Linked DNA regions of Homo sapiens: region 1 is linked to region 2. Evidence: promoter capture Hi-C in 16 types of primary human blood cells and fetal thymus (Javierre and others, 2016). All regions are on one chromosome and are shown on one strand. The core of a region is centred on a gene start or on the middle of the fragment in contact, and the rest is flanking DNA. Distances in the headings are between cores, read along the strand shown. Region 1 overlaps LIN28A (lin-28 RNA binding posttranscriptional regulator A). Region 2 holds the start of FAM110D (family with sequence similarity 110 member D).

What was found. Contacts are between HindIII fragments. The CHiCAGO score rates a contact against its expected background, and 5 or more counts as called.
Region 1: a fragment that was not itself captured here is called in contact with the fragment with the promoter of FAM110D in region 2 in 12 of 17 cell types (M2 macrophages, M0 macrophages, M1 macrophages and 9 more); the score reaches 15.0 in M2 macrophages.

The regions. Positions count from the first base shown.
Region 1 is chr1:26,415,204-26,419,025 of GRCh38, forward strand. All of the region lies in intron 2 of LIN28A (lin-28 RNA binding posttranscriptional regulator A), which reads left to right. Among named protein-coding and RNA genes, the nearest start is that of LIN28A, 6.3 kb to the left of the region's middle. RefSeq lists an enhancer at 3,337-3,822. The HindIII fragment of the contact is 1,772 bases long and covers 1,128-2,899 here.
Region 2 is chr1:26,156,839-26,160,387 of GRCh38, forward strand. FAM110D (family with sequence similarity 110 member D) reads left to right here and starts at 2,241. Exons shown (of 2, transcript NM_024869.3): 1 at 2,241-2,288. RefSeq lists an enhancer at 1-515. The HindIII fragment of the contact is 9,541 bases long and covers 1-3,549 here.

The DNA of each region.
Region 1 (3,822 bases), core at 764-3,263, 260 kb after region 2:
GGAGAAAAGGTTTTCAATACCTAGACAACTGCTGAAATTGCCCTGTAGCCAGGTGGCCTTCTTTTTCTAAAAGCCATGAGTGAGGAGGTGGTAAGAGCAACTTTATTCAGGGTCTAGGTTAGGACTGCTGGGTTTGGTGTTAGGGTTGCGGGGGCGGGTGGGGAAATATACGGAATCTTTCCTCCTGGTTTGTAACACTGCACCTCTGATTACTCACCTCATGTCTAGTTATTGAGGTACTGGTCTTATACCCTTCTCTATGTAACCCATAAGCTCTTTGAAGGGAGGAACTTAGCTGCCTGGTTAATTTTCTAGTATGCATTTGGTGGGCTGAGGAATGAATAAGAAAAGGGGCATCTTGAGGACCTTGGTGAATCAGAAGTACACTTAGCAGTCTGGGGTCCATGTTGGCAGAGATCTTTGTTCAGAGAAAAAGACTAGAGATACTGAGGGGTGTCAATTGTAGCTGCTCGCTTTCTGGGCTGGGCACAACATAGAATATGGCCTGGGCACAACATAGCACTATGAAAGTTTGTGGAGTGAATATGGGTAGATCACCACTCGGAGCCCAGAGAGGTTCCTCTCGTTTTTGTTGACAGAGTGGAAGCCACGGATTTAGTGGTCATCCATGAGTTATTTCTGTCTTAATAAGAAAAGGCAGCTTAAAAATAAATTGACTCGATTTTTCAGAAAGTTGGTAGAGAGGTAGGAAGGTTCATGAAGACATTGTGGAATCTTCTGGGGTCCTCTTCTTTCTGAGACATGCTTCTAGACAATGTCTTTTTTTTATTTTTATTTTTATTTTTTGAGATAGAGTCTTGCTCTGTCGCCCAGGCTGGAGTGCAGTGGCACGAACTCGGCTCACTGCAACTTCTGACTTTTGGGTTCAAGCAATTCTCCTGCCTCAGCCTCCCAAGTAGCTGGGATTACAGATGTACACCACCACACCCAGCTAATTTTAGTATTTTTAGTAGAGAAGGGTTTTCGTCATGTTGTCCAGGCTGGTCTCAAACTCCTGACCTCAAGTGATCCACCTGCCTGGGACTCCCAAAGTGCTGGGATTACAGGCATGAGCCATGATGCCCGGCGACAGTGTAAAGTAAAGGCTGTGACACCATCCTGAACAAAGCTTCAAATATGGGATGTTTCTACCCTCTGGTTGTTGACACTGCTGCCTGCCTTACAAGTGGTTTTCAGTAACATTCACCAGGGCCATTTAGTTTTTTGAACATTGCTAATCACACTCTACTGGAATTCTTGTTTTTTGGAGTAACTGCCCTAGGTAAAACTATGCCTCCTGTCTTCCTGCAGGCATGAATAGCAACCACTGGCCACATAGTCAGAGTGGGAGGTCAAAGGAGTTGGGGGAGAATACACAGTTGATACAGACTTATTTAACATGATCTCACCATCGAGGTTTTTTATTTTTTTTGAGACGGAATCTCTCTCTGTTGCCCAGGCTGGAGTGCAGTGGCGCCGTCTTAGCTCACTGCAACCTCCACCTCCCAGGTTTGAGCGATTTTCCTGCCTCAGCCACCCGAGTAGCTGGGATTAGAGGCACCTGCCACCATGCCCGGCTAATGTTTTGTATTTTTAGTAGAGATGGGGTTTCACCATGTTAGCCAGGCTGGTCTCGAACTCCTGACCTCGTGGTGATCCGCCTGCCTCGGCCTCCCAAAGTGCTGGATTTACAGGCATGAGCCACCATGACTGGCCCAGCGTGGTGTTATTTAATTTAGACAGGACTTGGCTTTTCTAAGCAGTAGAATATAAGAACTGAGTTTCTGGCCTAAAAGTCTAGGAACCTTTCATTCTTATCCCTGATCAAGCCGGTGGTTGGGTGGGGGCAGGGTGGGACGGGGAGGACAAGATGACTGCCCTAAGGAGCTGTGGAGATAAATCTACCCGAACACTTGAGTTCACAGCTCAGACCAGGTAGCGGGCCACTCAGTACCTCCTGGTATAGGCGCCCTCGGGCTTACCTTTGGGCAGACAGGCTGAGCAGCGCCATCTGGTGGAGAACTCCAGGCAGGAGCTACAGGGCCTGGCTGTGGCTGAGCAGAGGGGATCAGAGGGATTGGCTGCCTGCAGCCTTCTGTTCCAGACACCCCTTTCACCAACCTCCTTGACACACACCCTCCTTGACACACACACCATCGAATAACTGCTTCTGGGAGAACCGGTTGGTTCTCCCTTACCAAATCTTACCTCCAGGAATGAAGCTAAGTTAGGGATGTGACACCACAGGACTGAATCATTAAAATTACTTTCATCAGCTGCTTTTTTAAACGTAGCTACTAGAAAGTTTTCAATTATATATGTGACTTGCATCATAATGAATTGCACTGGGGAGAGTTAGGCCAGCTGCACTCAGCTCAGCTCTTGCCTCTTATTGCGACTTTAACCAAGGTGCTTATTAACCCCTCTGCCTCCATGTCCTCAAGCTGTAAAATGAGGGTCTTCATATCACCCCACTGCACCAGTTTGATATGAGGGTTAAATGAGTTACAACACGTAAAGTGGTTAGAATGCCACTTAGCCTACAGTAAGAATCAATTAGTAACAGTTATTTTGCATAGTACTTAGACATTCAACAAATGCTTGTGCAAGCTAAGAACCTAGAATTGAGGTAGAGACCTGCACTACAGAATCTTCCGGCTGGAATGGCCCTGGAAGAAGATCTGGAATAGCCTCTTGCGGAAGAGCCAAGAACCCCAGCTTTAATCTGCACAACTGTAGCAAGTACCCTGAAATTCTGTTGCCACTTCTGGAGAAAGGACACTTAGGTTCCTTTGTGTTGTTTTTTTTTTTTCTCTTCATACTTTTTTCTTTTATAATGTTTTCTTTTGTTTTTAACTCCACATTTCCTAAGTGACCCCTAAGGCTCATTCTATCTCTAAGCTTGCAAAGGCATAAATTGAAGCTGGGATGAGGTACTTGGTGTGGGTTGGATAGGGTAAGGCAGGCAATTACTGAGGTATTAAGAAGGGATCAGAAGGCCTAAGTACTTTAACTGGAGAGATTCCTTCCCTGTTATCAAAAAAAGAAAAAGAAATGCTTGGGGTGGGCGCGGTGGCTCACGCCTGTAATCCCAGCACTTTGGGAGGCCGAGGCGGGTAGATCATGAGGTCAGGAGATCGAGACCATCCTGGCTAACGCGGTGAAACCCCGTCTCTACTAAAAATACAAAAAATTAGCCAGGAATGGTGGCAGGAGCCTGTAGTCCCAGCTACTCGGCAGGCTGAGGCAGGAGAATGGCGTGAACCCGGGAGGCGGAGCTTGCAGTGAGCCGAGATTGTGCCACTGCACTCCGGCCTGGGCAACAGAGCCAGACTTTTTAAAAAAAAAAAAAAGAAAAAGAAATGCTGTCTGTTGTCTGATGCCACATTCCCCAACACAGTAGGCCCATGTAGGCTCCCCACAGTCCTAACTTGAAGAAATTGGGAAAGGATGATATGGGTCATGCCTTCTCTCCCCCTCCCCTTTAAAATAATTTATCTGAATCAATAATTCAGGATTGGACTGAAGAGACCCAAGGGGAGGGGGTCCTGTTTGGTTCTATCCATGAAGTGGGCAGTGCGCAAGCCAGAGAAGGGAGATGGCTGCTGATGGTGACTTTGGCAAGACTGCCTGGGGAAGGAAGAATTTTCTATATCTAGTTCTCTCCCGTGACCATAACCCCAACATAGAGAGGAAGGAAGAAACAGTTGAATGTGGGGAGGAGGGAGAGGGAGATGCAAGAGGGATCTGCTCCTTGGAACTCCAGGAATCTGACCACCAGAACCAGCCAGTGTCAACTCTTTGTTTCCTGGGGCTGGGCTC
Region 2 (3,549 bases), core at 991-3,490:
GCTCCTTTAAGACCAAAGGGATGGGGGTTGCAGAGTCAGACACAACAGCCCCATCCTCCCCCCAGGCGGCGGGCCAGGTTTCCTGCCATTGACAGCATCCCAGCTGGCCCTGCCCACCTCCCATGCTTAACCCCTTCCTGACCAGATCTCAGAGCCAAGCTGGCACCCTCAGCCTTCACCTAGAAAGTTAGGAGAATGAAAGTGACTTTTTTTGTTTTTCTTTTTTGCAGCTTTGTCACCCAGGCTGGAGTGCAGTGGTGTGATCTTGGCTCACTGCAACCTCCGCCTCCTGGGTTCAAGTGATTCTCCTGCCCCAGCCTCCCTAGTAGCTGAGATTACAGGAGCGCACCACCACGCCCAGCTAATTTTTGTATTTTTAGTAGAGACAGGGTTTCGCCGTGTTGGCCAGGCTGGTCTCCAGCTCCTGGCCTCAAGTGATCGGCCCGCCTTCACCTCCCAAAGTGCTGGGATTACAGGTGTGAGCCACCTCGCCCGGCCCGAAAGTGCCATTTCATCGGGTTGTTTTGAGGATTAAATATGTTAATCCTTATGTGAGGTACTTAGAATAGCCCCTAACATATATTAATCTCTCAATAAAAGTTAGCTATTGGCCGGGAGAGGTGGCTCACACCTGTAATCCCAGCACTTTGGGAGGCCGAGGCCGGCAGATCGCAAGGTCAGAAGTTCAAGATCAGCCTGAGCAACATGGTAAAACCCTGTCTCTACTAAAAACACAAAATTAGCCAGGCACTTGCCTGTTATCCCAGCTACTCGGGAGGCTGAGGCAGGATAATCGCTTGAACCCAGGAGGCGGAGGTTGCAGTGAGCCAAGATCACGTCACGGCACTCCAGCCTGGGTGACAGAGTTTGGTGAGCTTGGATAAGTCATTTCTCCTCTCTGAGCCTCAGTCTCTTCAGCCGTAAGTGTGAAAAATAATAAAACCTCCCCCAAAGATTGTCATGGGGATTATGACAAAGCAGCTAATGGCATTTTGAAAAGTGCTGTAGCAACAAAATATGGAACTATCACCAACAAAATCCCCCCTTTAGGTAATAAAAACCTTTTACCGGGAGATGGGCCTTGGGTTTTCAGACCCACTACTGACTTGACAGGCAGAGGATGCAGTTCCAAATGTGGATTTGGAGCTGGGCTTTGGGCATCTCTCTCCCCCCTCAGCTCCTGTTTCCTTACTCATTAAGTGGGGGGTCATTCCTGCTGGACGCCTGTCTAGGGTCCTTGTTTGGGGGCGGTCAAAGGAGATCAGAGAGCACAGACGGGAATGTGCTTTGCAAACATGAAAGAGGGCTAGAAAGGAGGAGGAGGGACTTGGGGAAGGTGGCCAGCCAAGGGGGGAAAGGAACCTTTGGCCTGAGCACTGGTCTTAGTCTGGGCTGGAGAGTTTAGTTTGCCTGCTGGGGAGAGGGGAGGTGTCTCCTATGAGGTAGGGTTTCACCTTGAGACATAAGGTGTCAGAGAAGAAACTCTGATGGAAGAAGCTCTAAGAGGCTCCAAGTGTGGGCAGAGAAGGAAGCGGGCCAAAGGACCTGGGCTTGGCCCTGGAATCAGCCCCTCATCACTGTCTTCCCAGGCAATCCCATCTGCCATGAAAGGACCTTGGCAGAGGCAGCTCCAGTGGGCTCCAGGGTCACCTTCATGACAAGACTTGCCGCCACAGGCTCACCTGCACATCTATAGCACCAATGCCCCCACCCTTAGGCTGCAGATTCCTGGTCTCGCCCCCAGGGAAAGCAGGCTTGACACCACCCAGCACCCAGACCAAGACAGGTCTCAGCCTGCTACAGAGGGAAAAAAGCAAGTTGACTAGAACCCTGTTCTGCCTTCCCATTCAGACTGTCAGAGCATCTGCCACAGCCCAGGGAGGGGGCTGATCCCACATACGGAGCCCCCACCCCAGGCCTTTGGAGGAAGCCTGGGGATCAGGAGGCCTTGTTTGGAGTCCTGGCTCTGCCCAAGCTCACAGTGCTTCCACAGCCAATCACCTAACCGGGCTGGGACTGTTTGACCATCTGTAAAATAAAAGGAGCTGGACTTGGTTCACAGGTCTCCACAGCGCAGGACTGTGATCAGGAAAGAGTTAATGGAGGCCAGGATCTGCCTCAGGAAGGCGAGGGTTAATTTGGGGGGCGGGGGGTGGAGGCTTTCTCTGCTTTTCCTGTGGAGAGTGAGGTTTGGCTGCCACCAAAGTTACTTCTAGTCCTTGCTGTCCACTCCTGCCCTCAGTCTGGACCTGCCCAAGGACCCCTGCAATTAGGCCTCCCATGCAGAGGTGAGTGTACCCTGAGCCCAGGGCTGGGGTAAGAAGGAACCCAGGGGCCTGAGGGCAGGGAGACTGGTGCCAAACTAGTGAGCCTAAAAGATGGCCCATGCCCAGAGCAGAAGCCTTGGGCAGAGTTGAGACCACAAGTTTCAGGACTGGGAGAAGGCAGGCAAAGGAATGGAGGGCCCGAGGCTGCCTGCCAGGCTTCTAGGGCGGGATGTCTGAGGTCCGGCCTCCAGGCTAGCCCAGAAGGCAGGGAAGAGGCTGTGGATGACAGACTATTTTGGTCCTTGTGATTAGGAACTTTTTATAGTCTCCCTGCTCAGGGCTGGGGAGAAGAGGAGAGGACAGAGGGCACCCATGGGGTCAGACAAGCAGTGCCTTCCTGGGACCTTGGAATCTGACCCACTGCCAAGGAGACTCCCTGGGAGACAGGGAGGGGGACACTGCCAGACTCTCCTTGGTTCCCAGGCCTCAACTACCTATGAGCAGACTGACTACACACTAGATGCTGGGTGCAGGGGTGGGCTGGACCTGGCAGGGTCTCTGCCCCAAGGCCTCTCACAGACTCCTTCCCCACTTCCCTGGCTAATTCTGTTCCTTTGTTGTCCCCAGATCCAAGGTCCCTCAGCCTCCAGGACTCAGGGGGAGTAGGGGAAGATAGGGGTGGGGTCGGGTGTGCAGGGCCATGTGGGTGGCCCATTCTGTTACTGCCAAGAGAACTGTCAGCTCTTGATTTACAACCCCTCCTCGCTCCTTGCCCCAGCAGAAGGGAGGTGGAAAAGGGTCATGAGGTCTTAGGATAAAAAAGGGACAAGGACCCTGGGGGCAAATTTCTGGGAGTGGGAGCGCAGGTTATTAGGAAGAATTAGTGGAAGGAACTTTTTAGTGAGGCAAGGGGCCCATTTCTAACGGAAATTGCTTGGTTTTATAGCAGCGGGAATACACGCAAAATATCAGTGAGTTCTTTTTTTTTTTCTTTTTTTTTTTTTGAGACGGAGTCTCGCTCTGTTGCCCAGGCTGGAGTGCAGTGGTGCGCGATCTCGGCTCACTGCAACCTCCGCCTCCCAGCTTCAAGCGATTCTCCTGCCTCAGCTTCCCAAGTAGCTGGGATTACAGGTGTGCGCCACCCCGCCTGGCTAATTTTTGTATTTTCAGTAGAGATGGGGTTTTGCCATGTTGGCCAGGCTGGTCTGGAACTCCTCACCTAAGGTAATTCACCCACCTCGGCCTCCCAAAGTGCTGGGATTACAGGCATGAGCCATCGCGC